Regions from separate parts of the Homo sapiens genome. Here region 1 is linked to region 2. The links are contacts of gene promoters, found by promoter capture Hi-C in blood cells and fetal thymus (Javierre and others, 2016). All regions are on one chromosome and are shown on one strand. Each heading gives the region's core, a stretch centred on a gene start or on the middle of the fragment in contact. The rest is flanking DNA. Distances are from core to core; before and after follow the strand shown.

What was found. Contacts are between HindIII fragments. The CHiCAGO score rates a contact against its expected background, and 5 or more counts as called.
Region 1: a fragment that was not itself captured here is called in contact with the fragment with the promoter of SH2D4A in region 2 in 1 of 17 cell types (M1 macrophages); the score reaches 6.0 in M1 macrophages.

The regions. Positions count from the first base shown.
Region 1 is chr8:19,044,496-19,048,085 of GRCh38, forward strand. It overlaps a transcript of PSD3 not described here. Among named protein-coding and RNA genes, the nearest start is that of PSD3, 33 kb to the left of the region's middle. The HindIII fragment of the contact is 1,345 bases long and covers 970-2,314 here.
Region 2 is chr8:19,312,071-19,315,809 of GRCh38, forward strand. SH2D4A (SH2 domain containing 4A) reads left to right here and starts at 1,623. Exons shown (of 10, transcript NM_022071.4): 1 at 1,623-1,753. The HindIII fragment of the contact is 8,347 bases long and covers 1-3,739 here.

The DNA.
Region 1 (3,590 bases), core at 392-2,891, 270 kb before region 2:
GAATAGATTAAATAATATTATATCAATTATATCCTAGAAAGCATCTACTACAGATATTAAATGAATGTAAAGTATCTTTTGTTCTTTTTCACTGTAAGTCATTCCATAGTCCTTAATCTTGTCACTAAGACTTTTAACGCCAGGTAATTGTTTCTAGGAGTTTGCTGTCTAATGAGAACAACGACATACAAATATAATTAAAACACAAATGTACTGTGAGATTGAAAGAACTATGGAAGTGCTATGAGAACTTTGCTCAGTGGTACCATAAAGCCTTACAGAAGAGATTCTTCAAGGATGAATAGGAGTTTGGTGGAGAGACGGGAAAGATTGTATAGAAAAATGTGAAGGCTTAAGCATGTTCCAAGGTGGGATGGAGATGAGACTTTTAAGAAAAGTAATGTCCAGGCTGGGCATGGCGGATCATGCCTGTAATCCCAGCACTTTGGGAGGCCAAGGTGGATGGATCACCTGAGGTCAGGAGTTCAAGACCAGCCAGTCCAACATCGTGAAACCCTGTCTATACTAAAAATACAAAAATTAGCTGAGTGTGGTGGTGCACACCAGTAGTCCCAGCTACTTGGGAGGCTAAGGCAGGAGAATTGCTTGAACCCCGGAGGCAGAGGTTGCAGTGAACCAAAATCATGCCATTGCACTTCAGCCAGGGTGACGGAGCAAGACTCCATCAAAAACAAAAAAACAAAAACCCAGAAAGAAAGAAAAAGAAAAAGAAAAGTAAAAAAGTAATATCCGAATTGTGAAAGCTTTGAATGTTTGGACTTTATTTCTTACAGTCAGTAAAGGGAAAATTTTAAGGAGAATATGATATGAAACCAAGAGATTCACAAGACAATAGAAAAAGTTGACAAGGGACCTGTATATCCCTCTCATATATCTCTCATTTTGAATTTAACAAAAGTGTTAAGGGAGGTGAGACTGACAGTAGCCAGCCGCCCTTGAACACAGCCAAGCTTCTTTCCTGGACAAACAATAAGCATTTCTAAGCAACAGCACAGATCTCTTGAAAGCGGCAGTGCTCAGTAGCTGGTTTCTAGGACCGATTCTACAGAAGTTTACCCAAGTGATTAGGAAATTCTTTGCTCTGGCAAAGATTAGATCTCTTTACAGAATGATAGTAAGTAATTATCCCTTACTTCAGGAACACCTTCTCCATTTAAAGGGGAAGGAAATCCTAGAAATGGAAGGAAGGAAAAGAATCCAGCCATCTGATTTAGCCAAAAACCAGCTAGTGTTGGGAGGGTGGAGAAGATGCTGTTAACATTTGTGGGTCACCTCCTAGGTCCTAGCATTCCACTAGATGCTTTATAAACATTCTCATTAAATCCTCACAATAACCTGTCAGGTAAGTGTTTTTATTCCCAGTTGAATTCAGGGCTTGCATTACGTCTAATCATCACTAGATTCTCAAGTCATTTCTTTTAAATCTCCTTTCTGGCTATAACCATCATCCCTTATCCTCTGCCCCTAAAAGATGATTACCAAGGATGGTTGAAATTAATTTCAAGTTAAGTTTGGGGAAGCAAACTCTTATAGGGATTACACAATAAGAAACAAGAAAACATTGTATAGAACAAGGGTGAAGTAACTAGATCTTTTGTTGTTGGTGGTGTTTTGAGATGGAGTCTCACTCTGTTGCCCAGGCCAGAGTGCTGTGGCCTGATCTCGGCTCACTGCAACCTCTACCTCCCAGGTTCAAGCGATTCTTCTGCCTCAGCCTCCAGAGTAGCTGGGACTACAGGCACGTGCCACCACACCTGGGTAATTTTTGTATTTTTAGTAGAGACGGGGTTTCACCATATTGGCCAGGATAGTCTCGAACTCCTGACCTCGTGATCTGCCCGCCTCAGCCTCCCAAAGTGTTGGGATTACAGGCTGAGCCACCGTGCCTGGCCGGTAACTAGATCTTATACTTCTGACCTTTTCATCATTTTAGCAGCAACCGATTTCCTTTATTGGGCCATCACTTATTCATTCAACAAATGAGTTAAGTTCCCAGCATCATGCATCTGGCTGAGGTCAGGCTCAACAAAGGGCCATGCCTATTCTTACTCAATCTTGGCACTGTATTCCTTACCATTTCTTTCTGCCTTTTGAAATGCCCAAGTATAACTTTGCCTTGAGTTTCCAAGACAAGCTCAAGCTCCTTTGTCTTCTGAGTTGATGCAATGTTGGATTACCAAATAAAGCTCCAGATGCCAATCCTTTCAGTAAGATCTGATGAGGTTTTGTTAAAGCTGACAAAAGAAATTTCAAAGAAATACTGTCGACACTGCTGAACAGTAGTTAATAATGAAGCTTACATCACTCAAGCCTTGGCAAGTGAAATAGTTTGTCCTGCAGTGAAAAAAAGGCCTTAAACTGGGTAGTGACAGCAGCAAAATTCTCAAGTTTGCATCTCAGGTGAACACTTGTCTCTCATCAAGAGTGGGTTGTACCATATACTACCTGGAGAGTTAGGGGTTAAATCTTAGGGCTGGCAGCCCTGGGACCAACAGCTTCCAGCAATTACATTTATCAGTGTATCCTCTGCATATCCCACTCCCTCTCCGGGGCTCGTTGCCAGCAGGCCTCTTATTCCTCTGCTACACAGGGACATAAATCTCTTTGCAGGAAGCAGAAACTAAACTAGGTGCTTAAGAGCCTCGGCAGAGAAATTCAGTGCCACTCAGCTGTTGATTTGCTGATGATAAAACGCACTCCTGATTTGCAAGCCTGGAGGTCCCTCTCTAACTCTGCAGTTCTCTGTGCCCTGGGACAGCCTTCATGTGGCCTCCCTGTGGCCTCCAGGGTACAGTAATGCATTGTATAGATTTCACCGCAAGTAAAGGATTCAGAATCCTTGCCTTGGAGAGGCCACAAGATGCTCATTTATTATAAAATATCCTCTAGTCAGATGATAAAATTCCACCATTAAGGATTCATGCCCTAGGATAAATGTCACTCTCTTCCTGCAGCCTTCTTTCTAGGATGCAAACCTCTGGGAGGTAAGAATGTGGAGGGGGTAAATGAATGGAGGAAAGGACAAAGAAGAGGGAGCTATAGAGTTTGAGTTTTGGGGGAGGGAAACACAATCTTTGCTTCCTTTACAACTACACCATCAAGCCCCAGGGTCAGGGACCAGGTTTCTCTGTTAATTGCTGTTCTGCCACACCTTATGTCATACCTGGCACAACACGGGCACTCAGTAGGGATGTGTTGAATGATGTCAATGAACAAAGCAGACACCTATCCCTCTCCTCCCTAAGAATGGGTGTGCATTAGAACAAGGACGACAAGGTGTCTGTCCTCCAGGCAGAAGCTAGCATCTCACACTGCACGGGAGCCTGTTGCAGTGGCCAGGTGGGCCTCTTAGTCGGAAGCCCCTGCTGTCAGATGATGCCTACTCACAGCTAGGTTTGGCTATTGAGTGTCTCCTGGCTAGATTTCTTTTTTTTTTAATGAAGCAGCATGAAAATTCACCTTCTACCTTTGCCTCTTCAGCAACTCCAATGACCAACTTGTCGGCATTCCTGGCTCGCCCAAACCTAGAAACAAGGAGTATGTTCACATCCAAAGACTTCAAAGAGCCA
Region 2 (3,739 bases), core at 373-2,872:
GGGTTCTATTGGTCAAGCATACCAACCTTTACAAAGTGGCAGGGAGCTATGCAAGGATGTGAATACCAGGAGGATAGGATCCCTGGGAATGACTTGGAAGGTAGGTGGCATGGTGGGCAGAACCCACAGCCTAGGGTGAGATGGCAGGAATGTGGAATTCCAGTACCTTAATGTGATATGAACTGATCTGAGTGAATGTGTTTGAACACTCACCACATGCCAAGAGCTCTTCTAATCTCTTTGCATGTAGCATCTCATTTAACCCTCTTGACAACTTACCGAGGCAGACACTCTTTATCTAGAGGAGGAAAGTGAGGTACAGAGGTTAGTAGCACAGTGATAAAGCTGTTATAAGGAAGGACTTGCCAGGACCTGGAGAGAGACTGGGTGTGAGGAAGGTAGGCTGTCACAGTGTCCTGTGGGATTTTTCCTAACTGATAAACCACCCTGTATGGTTCAACTGATGCATCCATGCAGGGCTAGGATTCATTCTGACCTCGTCATAGCAGCTTTCCAGGGGCCAATCCCACTCCAGCCTAAAGCACCCCATATGCTATCATTTAAACTGCAGTAGGAACTAAGCCTTACACCAGAAATTCCTCCCTGATGGGATTCCTGGAATTGTTCCTAAATAGCTGGGTCTTATTTCCTGACAATGCCGCCTGCCCCGAGGCTTGATGTAACTCTGCACAGCTTCTGCAGTTTGGAGAGGCAGGGAAATGCCATTTTGTGTTTGAATCCAGCAGGTCAGGCTCCTAAAGAGGTCAGGTAGTCCGTGGAGAGGACTACTGGTGTTTACTGTTTATTACATCTCTCCCAATACACAAAATCTGGGGTTCACCAAAGCAGGCGGTTTTCTTCCACATGCTCCTCTAGGATGGAAAATGCCCTCCAGTGGAAATGCCTTTCCACTGTGCTTCTGCTCAATTTTCCTCCAAGATTTCCTCTAACTGTGGACTGCCAGCTCCTCCCTGACGTCTTCAGGCACCAAGCCAACCTGTTCTTGTTGCAATCCTCAAGACTCCTTTCAGCATCTTAACTTTTCCCCCAGTTTTCTTTCATTTTCTCCACCTGTCTGTGTTGACTGCGGTCTCCTTCCTTCCAGCCTTTTCCTTCCTTCATCTTGTCCTACAAAGCCACACGTGTACCGACAAGTGCCAAAGAGTTTGATCATTTACTTAATGTCAACAAAAGAAAAAAAAAAAAAGCTCCAGAGTCGCCTTGGCCTGCAGCACCCAAGCAGAGTGAACAAGTGGGGCCTGCGCACCCTCCTACCCTACACCTAGCAAGGAACCCCGAGCTCTGAAACGTGGAAAGGCCCAGATCTGCAGATTTAATCTAAGTCCTGCAGTCCCCAAGAGATCACAGACTGCAGATCCCTGTCTCATGAACTAAGAGAGGAGAGGACAAGCCTACCCCGGACTACCGCAGCTCGGGGACAGCGCGCGGGCCAGGCGGCCCGAGATGCGCAGGCCACGCAGCCTCGCCGACGAGTGGCCCTGGAGAGCCTCCAGGCGCCCGGGTGGGGCCGCGATTGCGCCCCGCCAGTCACCCCGGCATGTGGGCGCGGCGGGGCGGCGCGGGCGGGACGGCTACAAGAGCTGTTTTGCGTCCGGGCCGGAGTATTTGCTCAGCCCGCCTGCGCCGCTTGGGACGCCTCTGCCTTTCCCTCCCTCCCTTCCCCGACGGCTTCTGGCGGCCAAGTGGATGTGGCGGGTGATCGAGCCACCCTGCCCAGGGGCGCCCAGCACTGGTAGGTGCTGGGGGTGGGGCGAGGCTTTGGGGAGAGTGTGCGTGGGGTGGGAGTAGGGGGAAGGGAATTTCCTCGGAGGTTGCATGGGTGCATGGGAGGCGCAGGGGCCAGAGCGGGCGGGCGGAAGCCTCACCCCCGCCTCCACCCCTTCGCGGCGCCCGGGGCGGGCTCAGGTGCGGGGTTGGGCGGCGAGAGCGGCCGCGGCGGGTGTCCGGTGTCCGGTGTCCGGTGTCCGGTGTCTGGAGCCGCTGGCTAGGTGAGCGGCGGTCCCCGGGGCCTGGGGGCTTGCAGGGGGTGGCGGGGGAACTTCGAGGGAGAGGGTCTGCCGGGGCTGAGGACCTTCGGGGAAGTTCTGGAATCCGGCAGGGACACGCGGCGCGTGCTTCCACCCGCGGGGAGTGCAGGCCCCGGGAGGGTCCGGGCTGGCCTAGAGTTTCTAGACTCCTAGCAGGAGCACGTCCTCGACTTGCGCATGGAAATCTTCCAGGAGGGAAGTCCCGGGAAACGGTGGCAGCTGGCGCAGCACCCCCGCAGCACGTTCCCCGCGCACCGGCACCCAGGGGCGCCCCCACGTGGGGTCTGGGAGCGCGCGGAGGCCAGTGCAGCGCCGCCTCCCTCGGGCTGCAGCGGCGGGGCTGGCCCAGACCCAGACCGGGTGCCCAGTGCGCTCAGCCAAGCGGCGCCCCTGCCCGCTCCTGGACTCGGGGGTCACGCGGGCACCGGAAGGAGCTACAGTTTGTAGGTTTTCTGAGTTGTCTCTCCCTTCCCAGGGAGCTTAGAGAAGCAGCAAGCGTGGCACCTCCCCCTTTCAAACAGATGCTCCTCATCGCTCCAAAGGCTTTCGTTTGATTGCTGGTTTAATAGAAACAACGACTTGGGTACGATTATTTTAAAATAGTGAATAAATAAGTGGAAAGCATACAGGGGCATAGATTTGGCATATGAGTGGAATTCTCTATGTATACTAAATCTGTGTGTACAGTAATCTCAAATTTCTGAAGAATAGTATATATTTACAAACTGCTGTCATCTCTGGTAATTTGTTTCATCCTCAAAAACAGCCCTTTTGCTGGTAGATGAATAAGATAAAGTTTCAATAAGAAAACAAAGTTGGACCACAGAGCTGGCTGTTTTAAAAGAATTAGAATTCAAACTGTATTGTTAATGTTATAGTTACACTGTCCATACCACAATACTTTTATTTATTTTTTATTTTATTAGGTCGGTGCAAAAGTAATTGCGGTTTTTACGTAAAAAAAACCGCAGTTACTTTTTTTTTGGCCATGTAAAACACAATAACTTTTGCACCGACCTAATGTTTTTAATTTTTGAGACAGGGTCTCCTTCTGTCACCCAGGCTGTGGTGCAGTGGTGCGATCTCGGCTCACTGTAGCCTCAAACTCTCCAACTCAAGAGATCCCCCCACCTCAACCTCCCAAGTAGGTGGGACTATAGGTGCGGGCCACCACGCCTGGCTAATTTTTATACTTTATGTAGAGACGGAGTTTTGCCATGTTGCCCAAGCAGGTCTTGAACTCCTGAGCTCCAGCAATCCACCCATGTCCACCTCCCAAAGTGTTGGGATTACATGTAGAACCACTGTGCCCGCCTACTATTTTTATGATTTAGCCTGTATCTAAGGCCTTTTAAAATTGTATTTTGTTTAGGTCTCAGAGTTATTCAAAAGACAGTTGTATTGTAGAACAGTGTGAAGGTGTGAGAATCAGGCCAAATCTATGGTATCATGGAAAACAACGGATTCTCTGACCTTTTAGCAATTGGTGTTCAGAATAAATAGCAGGTGTGGGCTTGTTGCTTATCATTTCTCTCTTTTAAGAAAGGGGCTGTGTTAGCTGAGCTATTCCTTTGTTGGATCTTGAATAACCGGAGATTTGCTGCCCTTGATATAGTATGGGAAAGTCCTCTGAGTTTGAATCAGTATCAGCAATGATTACTTCCTTGTCAGGGAGTGAAAGTAGGAAAGCC